Linked DNA regions of Homo sapiens: region 1 is linked to region 2. The links are contacts of gene promoters, found by promoter capture Hi-C in blood cells and fetal thymus (Javierre and others, 2016). All regions are on one chromosome and are shown on one strand. Each heading gives the region's core, a stretch centred on a gene start or on the middle of the fragment in contact. The rest is flanking DNA. Distances are from core to core; before and after follow the strand shown. Region 1 holds the start of TRD-GTC2-10 (tRNA-Asp (anticodon GTC) 2-10). Region 2 holds the start of IKBIP (IKBKB interacting protein).

Region 1 (4,887 bases), core at 162-2,661, about 26 Mb after region 2:
AGGCAGCTGCTTGGCGGATGTCCTTGCAGTAGTCTTTTTTGTGTAAGGTCGCGAAGGCGTTTGTGCAAGGTTGTGGTTTTTCTAGAGTCTTTTATCAGGCCTGCAAGCACGGGAACCCTCTCTTCATGGCCTTCCCTGGTTCTATTTGTCAGGGTTTATTTATTTATTTATTTACTTACTTAACATCCATGACTTCATTTTGATTCTGACAACTTTCACAACATCATGGGTTGAAAGTAGTAACTTGTGTTTTACTTCCATTTATTTAAATACTTCTAAGAGCCAAGCTTTTCTGTAAGTTTTATTAATGAATCATTTTTCCTCTTCTGTAAATTCATTGCCTGTTGATTGTGATCTATTGATATTTTTGAATTTTTCTTAGTGATTTAAAAAATTATTTCTATAATAAAGATATTAGGCTGGGTGAGGTGGCTCACACCTGTAATCGTAACACTTTGGGAGGCTAAGGCGCGGGGATTGCTTGAGCTCAGGAGTTTGAGACCACCCTGGCTCCTCCTAAATGATTGAAAGGACACAACATAATGGATATGCTGTAATTGATAAAGAGACCTTAAAAAAAGTAAAATCAGGAAGATTACCAAATAATTGGTCTGCTCAAGCTTGCAAGTTATTCGCACTTAGGCCCTAAAATATTTACAGAACCAGGTAGGAACTATCTATACTGACTCTAAATATGCTTTCAGAGTATCTCATACATTTGGAAAAATTTAGGCTGAGCGAGAACTATTTAACAGTAAAGGTAAGGAACTTGCTCATGAAACACTAGTTGTTCATGTTCTTAATAATCTTCAATTACCGGAAGAAATAGCCATTGTCCATGTTCCAGGACACCAACCTAATTTTTCTTTTAAAAGTCAAGGAAACGGCCGGGCGCGGTGACTCACGCCTGTAATCCCAGCACTTTGGGAGGCCGAGGCAGGCGCATCACGAGGTCACGAGATCGAGACCATCCTGGCTAACACGGTGAAACCCCGGCTCTACTAAAAATACAAAAAAATTAGCCGGGCGTGGTGGCGGGCGCCTGTAGTCCCAGCTACTAGGGAGGCTGAGCCAGGAGAATGGCGTGAACCTGGGAGGTGGAGCTTGTAGTGAGCTGAGATCGCGCCACTGCACTCCAGACTGGGCGACAGTGCTAGACTCCCTCTCAAAAAGAGGAAAAAAAAAAAGAAAGAAAGAAAGAAAGAAACTTAACAGAATGCAGTGAGGTCAGGCACTTCCAAGAGCTGACCCATCAGTCAGCCCTTATTCATCCCCGAGTGGGTGTATGGTGGTATTTTGGAGAACCTTTACTGGACACTTTGCCAAATAATTGGAGCGGTACTTGTGCTCTAGTTCAGTTAGCTATCCCTTTTACCCTGGCATTTCATCAACCAGAAAAACAAACAAACAAAAAAACATGACATCGTAAAACAAGAGAAGCCTCTCGTAGGTCCTTTGACCCCCATGTTTATTTAGATACAACTGACGTTCCACGAGGTATATCAGATAAATTCAAAGCTAGAAATCAGAGAGCTGTGAGGTTCAAATCCCTTCTCCCACAAATAACAATTAATAAGAATGTAAATTGGATAAACAATATTTATTACTATCAACAACAATTTATTAACTATACTTAAAGATGCTATTAAAGGAATAGCAGAACAGTTAGGATCCACTACTAAAATGGCTTAGGAAAATAAAATGGCTTTAAATGTAGTATTAGCCGAGAAAGGTGGTGTTTGTGTTATAATTAAAACCCAATGTTGTGTACAACCTTCATCCCAAATAACACGACTCCTAACAGAAGTATAACCAGAACCTTACAAGGTCTCACTGCTTTATCTAAAGAGCTTACTAGAAATTCTAGAATTAATAACCCTATTTCAAATTGGCTAGGACGATGGTTTGGTCAACGGAAGGAAACTATAACCTCAATTCTCACTTCTATTACTACCGTAATAGGTACACTTCTCCTTCTCGGATGTTATACCATGCCTCTGGAAGCTAATGACAAAATTAATAACGACAGTTCTTACCAAAACTACTAAAACCTATCTTAACTCTCCTCCACCTTATTCTAAGAGATTTCTCCTCTTAAAAGCTCAAGTAGAACAATTAAGCCAAAACATGCTAAAACAGTTTAAAAAGGAAAAATTATAAAAATTAAAAGGGAAGGAAATGTAGAAAGCAAAAGTTCCTCTTCAAAGCTTCCCCTTTAAATCATAAATGTTATTAATATCTTTTCTCAGAACTAACTTTCTTCAAATTTCTTATTTTATAGTAATAACTCTCTGTTAAGCCTTAGGTAGCAAATGTAACAGAATAAGCACACTCTGACTTCGGTATCTGTGCTAAACATGCTCACAGGCACGTAGTACATTCTATGTCCTTGTACCTTTGTCAAAATATTCGTGCTGGACGTGCCCAGGCATGTCCCAGCTTGCAGCCTACACTCTTCCTTATTTAGGAATATTATTACTTTTCTAAGTCCTTTCGTAAGGAACATCCTTTTTTCCTATGTTCCTCACTGCTTTTACCTATTTAAAAAATTTTTGAACTGTTAGCTAATCGGGTTTTAGTTTAAATTGTGAGGTCTGGCTGCAGCCAATGAAGTCAAAACACAGCAATAGGGACCTCATGCATAAGGAATAAATATTCTTCAGTTGTATCTGACTTTTAAAAATTAGACGTATCATTTTGATAAAAATCGAATAAGAGAGGAAAGGAAAGAAAAGAAGGGAGAAAAAAATAGAATTCCAAAAGTCCAGAAAGGTACAGAAATGGAAAGTCAAAAAGTCACTCCTCCCACCCACCACCCGAGTCCTTCTCCCCAAAGGCCCCCTATGTCTACAGTTGATCGTGACTGATGTGACCGCGGGCGGGCCACGGAGCCTCTGTCTGAGCCTGTATTTCATCAGTTTGATGTGGAGAAAACGGCTCGTTGGTAGGATCCTTGAGGATGTAATGCGTGAACACTAAAGCGCTTACCAATACCGCCCCCGCACGTTAAGAACTGTATATTGTTGGCTGCTGCTCCTGCTGCTGTTGTTACCGTGATGCCAATCAGAAACATTAATATACTCACACATTTGTGTGCATATCTATAATTTTTTGACATAAAAATGAACCTATTATGCTCACTGCCGAGCACCCTGTTTTTTCTTCCCTCGAACTCTCCTTGGAGGGGAAGGAACCCTCGTAAGGGCCCTAATTCAGTGTTGCAGGCACACCTGCGATGTGCACATCCTCTTATACCTACTCTGTATATTTTGGAACACCGAAAAGCATCGCCAACAAAGTCTCCCCTCTGTATTTAAAAATACGAAAGTACCCGGCCTCCCCGTCGGGGAATCGAACCCCGGTCTCCCGCGTGACAGGCGGGGATACTCACCACTATACTAACGAGGACAAGCCGTACTGTGTTCCCTGCAGCTCCCTTCTTATGTCCATACCATTCTCTCGCTATCGTTCCTAACCTTTCCGGGCCATCCAGGCTCCGCGCCGGGCACCCTGGCTGCTGGGCTTATCCAAGGCGGGTAGAGGCCCCTTTGAGTGGCTGGAGGCACTGCACGTTCCGAAGCTAAGGCACCTGAACTAGCAGAGCGAAGGGCACTTCCTGTATCACCATCCCCAGAAAAGACCAACACAAGGGGTAGGGGATGTAGCTCAGTGGTAGAGCGCATGCTTTGCACGTATGAGGCCCCGGGTTCAATCCCCGGCATCTCCAGACTTTTCCGCCTTTTTCGGGCAAATTACAGTCACGTGGTTACAAAAGCTTGGAAGAGGACCCAGGCAACCCTCAACAACCTGCCTGCGAAGAAAGCTCCCTTGGAAGGGGCTGCGCCAGCACATTTCCCTGCCCCTAATCACAAATGCCCTGGGCCCCTCCACCGGAGATTCGCGTTCAGTAGGTCAGTGACGGGGCCGGGAATCTGCCATTTGAAACGAATACTCCCAGTTATTTGTTTCATCAAGCAGATAGAAAAACATGGATTCCTTAGAAAGGTTCTGCAACTGACCATTCATTAACTCCTGAGGGCCTCATGTCAGGTTCCGTGCATGCACTGAGCACCTACTGTGTGCCGGGTAAAGTGTACGTCCCCTGGTATCCCTGGATAAGACAGGCCAGGCAAGCTTTCTCAGCCTTTTTGGACTTTATAGTCCAGTCCTGGAGACTTAACAATAAGCAAGTAGCGATACGTTTTATGAAGACAATAATAGCGATGAGATGGAAACTCAGGGGTGCAGGAGTGGGGGTTGCTTTAGATTAGCTGCCAGGGGAGACCTCTGCAGAAACAGTGCTTCCAGCGAAGGAAACGGCAGGTGCCAAGGCCCTGAGGCTGGAGGAAGGGCGCTCAGTGTTGAAGGGGCAGGAAGAAAGCCATGCCCTGGAGCTTAGTGAATGAGGATGAACTTTATCTTCGAAGACACTGGAAGGCCTGACGCAGGGGAACGCGACCAGATTCAGGTTTGAAAAGGCTCCCTCTGGCTGCCATGCGGAGAACACACCCTGGGCGTGGGTGGACGTGGGGAGATCGGGAAGGAGGTGCAGCCACCGCCCAGGAAGCTGCTGGAGACTTCCTCCAGGGGTGCTGCAGAGGAAGTGCGAGCCTGATGGAGTTCAGGACAAATGCTGGACGTGGTTGCATAGTATTTCCTAACGGAGGGGTAGCACGCTTTATTACCATTCCTCCTAGGGATTCGGGTAATTTTGTTTCCTCTCACTGAAGTCTTGTAGTCAGTGATCTGGTGCATGCGTTTTCCTTGCCTTCTGGCGCCGGTACCTCGATGGGGCAGATGTCCACAGGGAGCAATGCAGGGTCAAAGGGCATGGATACTTTTACAAACGTACTTCTCTGTCGCCCAGGCTGGAATGCAGTGGTGCGA
Region 2 (5,148 bases), core at 1,490-3,989:
TAATACAGGAATCACTAACAGCAAATTCCTGATGTGAGGGAAATTTTATTCCCATAAAGTTTAGTTTTCTATTAAAGCTTATCCCAGGATAGTAACTAACTTTCCCAAAACACAAAAGGTTACTTATTTATTTAGGCGAAGTCTCGCTCTGTTATCCAGGCTGGAGTGCAGTAGCAGATCTTGGCTCACTGCAACCTCCACCTCCCAGGTTCAAGTGATTCTCCTGCCTCAACCTCTGAGTAGCTGGGATTACACCAGGCCCAGCTAATTTTTGTGTTTTTGGTAGAGATAGGGTTTCACCATGTTGGACAGGCTGGTCTCAAATTCCTGACCTCAAGTGATTCGCCTGCCTCGGCCTCCCAAAGTGCTAGGATTACAGGCGCAAGCCACTGCACCTGGCCCAAAAAGGTTTTTTTTTCAATTTACTTAAAGGAGGTCAAGCATTTTAAGGCATAAGAGCCGTTTATTTAAAACAGTAAATTCAGTACATTTATTCCTTTCAGATCAAAATTAACATATTCCGTATTAGTAAAATAAATAATGCTATCTGCTTTTTTTTTTTTTTTTTTTGAGAAGGAGTTTTGCTCCATCCTGCAGGCTGGAGTGCAGTGGCACGATTTCGGCTCACTGCAACCTCCGCCTCTTGGGTTCAAGTGATTTTCCTGCCTCAGCCTCCTGAGTAGCTGGGATTACAGGAGCATGCCACCATGCCTGGCTTTTTTGTATTTTTAGTAGACACAGGGTTTTGCTATGTTGGCCAGGCTGGTCTCAAACTCCTGACCTCAGGTGATCCACCCACCTTGGCCTCCCAAAGTGCTGGGAGTACAGGCATGAGCCACTGCCGGCAGGCTGACAATTCTATTGTTTTTGAAGAGGGCGTTTAATCACTTTATTGTGACAAAATTTTGTTTGTTTGTTTTTTGAGATGGAGTCTCGCTCTGTTGCCCAGGCTGGAGTGCAATGGCACGATCCCAGCTCACTGCAACCTCCACCTCCCCATTTCGAGTGATTCTCCTGCCTCAGCCTCCTGAATAGCTGGGATTGCAGGTTTGTGCCACCAAGCCTGGCTAATTTTTGTATTTTTTGTAGAGACAGGGTTTCACCATGTTGGCCAGCCTGGTCTTGAACTCCTGACCTCATGATCTGCCCACCTCGGCCTCCCAAAGTGCTGGGATTACAGGTGTGAGCCACCGCGCCCAGCCGTAACAAATCTTTTAACTCTGAAAAATACACTATTTGGGATGAGTCACCAGTAAAGTATAATTCCATATGTAGTAGCATAAAAAATGTCTAGATGTCCAGGGTCTCTTCTAAAATTCTATCACTCTGGAAGATTAACAACAGTCTTACTAAATAACTTTACACATGAATGAAAAATGGAGAAAAATTCTATTAAGATGCCAATCTTATTAAAATGAAATGGGCTATTCCCTCCTCCCGCCAGAAAAAAAAAGGCTGGGAAAATAAAATTCACAAGTTGGTTTTTTTCTTTTTTCTTTTTTTACGAGTTGGTTTTAAGGTTATTTCTAATATTCATTTTTCCTAATGACACCAATATATCGCCATTTACCTGATTTTAAAACTGCAACTGGTTAGTTTTAAGTGAACACAAGTGCTATGTTTTTGTAGCTTTACCATATTCAATCTGTAACTTACTTAATAAAAGACCTTAAATTCATAATGCATGCACGGTGATCAAAATATGAGCACTCCTCCAAGCTCTGCTACTATAACGTTTGCTCCTTTGGGAGCATAATGATATGGTTTTCTTTTTTTTTTTTTTTTGAGACGGAGTCTCGCTCGGTCGCCCAGGCTGGAGTGCAGTGATGCGATCTTGGCTCATAGCAACCTCCGCCTCCCGGGTTCAAGCGATTCTCCTGCCTCAGCCTCCGGAGGAACTGGGACTACAGGCGCCCGCCACCACGCCCGGCTGATTATTCGTATTTTTGGTAGAGATGGGGTTTCACCATGTTGGCCAGGCTAGTCTCGAACTCCTGACCTCAAGTGATCCACCTGCCTCGGTCTCCAAACATAATGATCTGTTTTAAGGTTGCAAGTATTTCCATTAGGTATTTATGGGGTGAGTAGGGTGGGGCAGATGTGTCCCGGAATGGGGCACAGCGGACAGGAAGTAACGGTTTATAACAACGTGAACGCTTCTGACGTGTAGCGGGAGCTTCAGAAAGCGTGGCCGAATCTGCAGCTCTTAACAAATGGCTCGTTCCCAAACCTTAGCCTCAACTCCTTCTGAGCGATAGGGGCATGCTACCAGCACGGGGGGAAATGAGATACAAGAAACGCCCGAAAGGGAAAAACAAGGCTGGGCTGTTTCCTTCCTTTGGGGTCAAGACAGAGGCACAGAAGGCCCAGGTCTGGGAGGTTGGATCACCTCCGGCTGGATGTTGAGCCGGGTGGGAGCCCAAACAGCAGGGGGCCCACAGGAGGCCGGCCCAGGCAGCCTCGCGTCCACTTACCAGGCCAGGCCCAGGCACGTCCCCAGCGACAGCAGGCTCAGGCACGTTCGGGGGTCTGCCCAGCCCCCGCCTCCGCTGCTCCGGGCCACGGGGGTCTTCCCGCCCTCGCTCCGCTTCCCGGGCTCCGCAGCAGGGGCTCCCTTGGGCCCCGACTTCTTCCGGCTCTTCACCTCAGACATGTCTGGAGACCCTAGGACGACAAGCCCAGGGCAGCTTCTTCACCAGGGGGAGCAGGACGTGGCCGCCTTGGCGTTCGTGGGAACCCTGGGCGGTGACCGCGCCCCCTCACAGACTTGGCACCGCCCAGAGCCCAGCCCCTTCCCTCTCCCCGGCATCCTCGTTGCTTCACTGAGTCTTTCAGCTGCCAGCTCCATAGTTCCCCTAGGAGAGGTGGGCGGCGACCTCAACCCACAGCGCCTTCCACTGCGATATTGCTCCAAATCCGAGGAAATTCAAACTCCCGGGCGCGCGCAGGCCGACGGGACCCGAGGAGGAGGGGCAGGACGAAGGGGTCGCGCGCGCCACGTCGGGCGCGCCGCCGCTGCCCGAGTCCGGCATTGGTGGGAACGCGGCGCGTCCCTGAGGCTTAGCCACGCCCCGTCCGCGGGGTAGGCGGGCACTTCTACGCGCGCGGGCATGAGCCGTGGCAGGAGTGCGCGGCGGCAGCGGTGGCCGCCCCTTGGGGCTTGGGGTGTGTTTATTTGCATAAGCGGGCGCGCGCCGTCCGGGCTGGGTGGATCCGGCGGGATTTGACTGCTCCGCTGTCCAGAGGCGGAGAAGAAGAGGTAGCGAGTGGACGTGACTGCTCTATCCCGGGCAAAAGGGATAGAACCAGAGGTGGGGAGTCTGGGCAGTCGGCGACCCGCGAAGACTTGAGGTGCCGCAGCGGCATCCGGAGTAGCGCCGGGCTCCCTCCGGGGTGCAGCCGCCGTCGGGGGAAGGGCGCCACAGGCCGGGAAGACCTCCTCCCTTTGTGTCCAGTAGTGGGGTCCACCGGAGGGCGGCCCGTGGGCCGGGCCTCACCGCGGCGCTCCGGGACTGTGGGGTCAGGCTGCGTTGGGTGGACGCCCACCTCGCCAACCTTCGGAGGTCCCTGGGGGTCTTCGTGCGCCCCGGGGCTGCAGAGATCCAGGGGAGGCGCCTGTGAGGCCCGGACCTGCCCCGGGGCGAAGGGTATGTGGCGAGACAGAGCCCTGCACCCCTAATTCCCGGTGGAAAACTCCTGTTGCCGTTTCCCTCCACCGGCCTGGAGTCTCCCAGTCTTGTCCCGGCAGTGCCGCCCTCCCCACTAAGACCTAGGCGCAAAGGCTTGGGTAAGTTGACCTCCTCGCTTTTCTCCCCGAGCCAGGTTCTTTGGAGGCTTGGTAGCTGATTTCAGGGACTGAGAATTTGAGGACATGGAATATTTGATAACCATCCTGCTCCTGTACCAGGAAGAGAAATTCTGTAATGAGGAAGTAGTAAACTTGGGGTTTTCGTGGATAAACGTGCGCTGTTTTCTGTTTTACGTCCATGAAGAGTTTTGGCTTTCCATTTTGTTGTGGGTTACAAAAGGTTTTGAGACTTAGTTCAGATAAGTTGTGCAGTTTTAAAACGTATTTAAGATTTGCATATTTTAGTTTAACAGGACTAGGTGAAATTGGAAATTAGTTTCAGAAAACCAGAGTGTCTTATTTGCTTAGCTATTGGACATCACCTAAAAAATTCATTCATTCTTGTTTTTTCACATCGAATTTCATTACTATAAATTAAGGAACATTTTATGTTTAAGAGGACAAAAACGTTATTAACATTTTAAAAAATGAGAGTTTTGATTCGAATCAATAACTTTTTATCAGTTTTGTGCCCCTGCTGGGCATTTTGTAAGCCTTGACAAGCATAGGCAAATGCCCTACGTCCGTCCCTGTTTTTCCAAGTGCTACATTTGGTGACTTCAAAAACAGTCATTGAAGCTTGATAATTATTGCCCCCTTCTGTGAGCTCCAAGTTACTTGTGCTCTGTTTTTGCACTTCGGGCATTCACATTCCCACTCTCTCTCTCTTTTTCTTCTTTGAGTAGACTGTGAATTATTTCAGGCAAATGACTCAATCTTTTCTGTAGTCTTGGTGTCTGACATATAGGGAGGGGCACAAATGTGTATTGAATGAATGAATTGATAAACCCGTTTAGACTCTTTCACTCTATACATTGTGTAAAGTTCTGTTAATGTTTTGAAAACTTGCAGATATTGTGAACTGGGTTTTATGCCCATGGAAAAATTTGCATTATATTTGAAATAAAGTTGCTAGAAACGTCAAGTATTTTACTATAAAGGCTGTTATTCTTTCCTCATGTCCTCCTGGTCTGAGAAATCACATCAGAAAGTGTTTCCTGTTGCTTTGTGGGAAATGTGTTTAGCAAGGAGGACCTAGAGCTGACATCCTCCTTGAACGAGAACTAATACTCAATAGTAACAATGCTCTATTCACTCTTATGTTTGATAAGGAAAACAAGAAGTCTCTTAATATTAGGACTTCAATGTAATCACTATTTTATACAATCTTAATTAAAAAAGGAAGTATTTTATTGTAAGAAATGATAATGTGTGCTAAAAAAAATTGACAGTAGAGGCCGGGCATGGTGGGGCTCACAAGTGTAATCCCAGCACTTTCGGAGGCTGTGGCGGGTGGATCA

Evidence for each region. Contacts are between HindIII fragments. The CHiCAGO score rates a contact against its expected background, and 5 or more counts as called.
Region 1: a contact is called between a fragment that was not itself captured here and the fragment with the promoter of IKBIP in region 2, in 1 of 17 cell types (M0 macrophages). The highest score is 5.7, in M0 macrophages.

Annotation. Positions count from the first base shown.
Region 1 is chr12:124,936,311-124,941,197 of GRCh38, forward strand. TRD-GTC2-10 (tRNA-Asp (anticodon GTC) 2-10) reads right to left here and starts at 3,408; the gene lies at 3,337-3,408. TRA-TGC4-1 (tRNA-Ala (anticodon TGC) 4-1) reads left to right here and starts at 3,656; the gene lies at 3,656-3,727. RefSeq lists enhancers at 1,713-2,912, 2,401-2,670, 2,951-3,190 and a silencer at 3,371-3,450. The HindIII fragment of the contact is 1,587 bases long and covers 619-2,205 here.
Region 2 is chr12:98,642,049-98,647,196 of GRCh38, forward strand. IKBIP (IKBKB interacting protein) reads right to left here and starts at 2,740. Exons shown (of 3, transcript NM_153687.4): 1 at 2,475-2,740. The coding sequence starts at 2,653. It overlaps APAF1 (apoptotic peptidase activating factor 1), which reads left to right and starts at 3,242. Exons shown (of 27, transcript NM_181861.2): 1 at 3,242-3,787. RefSeq lists enhancers at 1,458-2,085, 2,086-2,712, 2,713-3,340 and silencers at 2,917-3,116, 3,437-3,646. The HindIII fragment of the contact is 4,349 bases long and covers 76-4,424 here.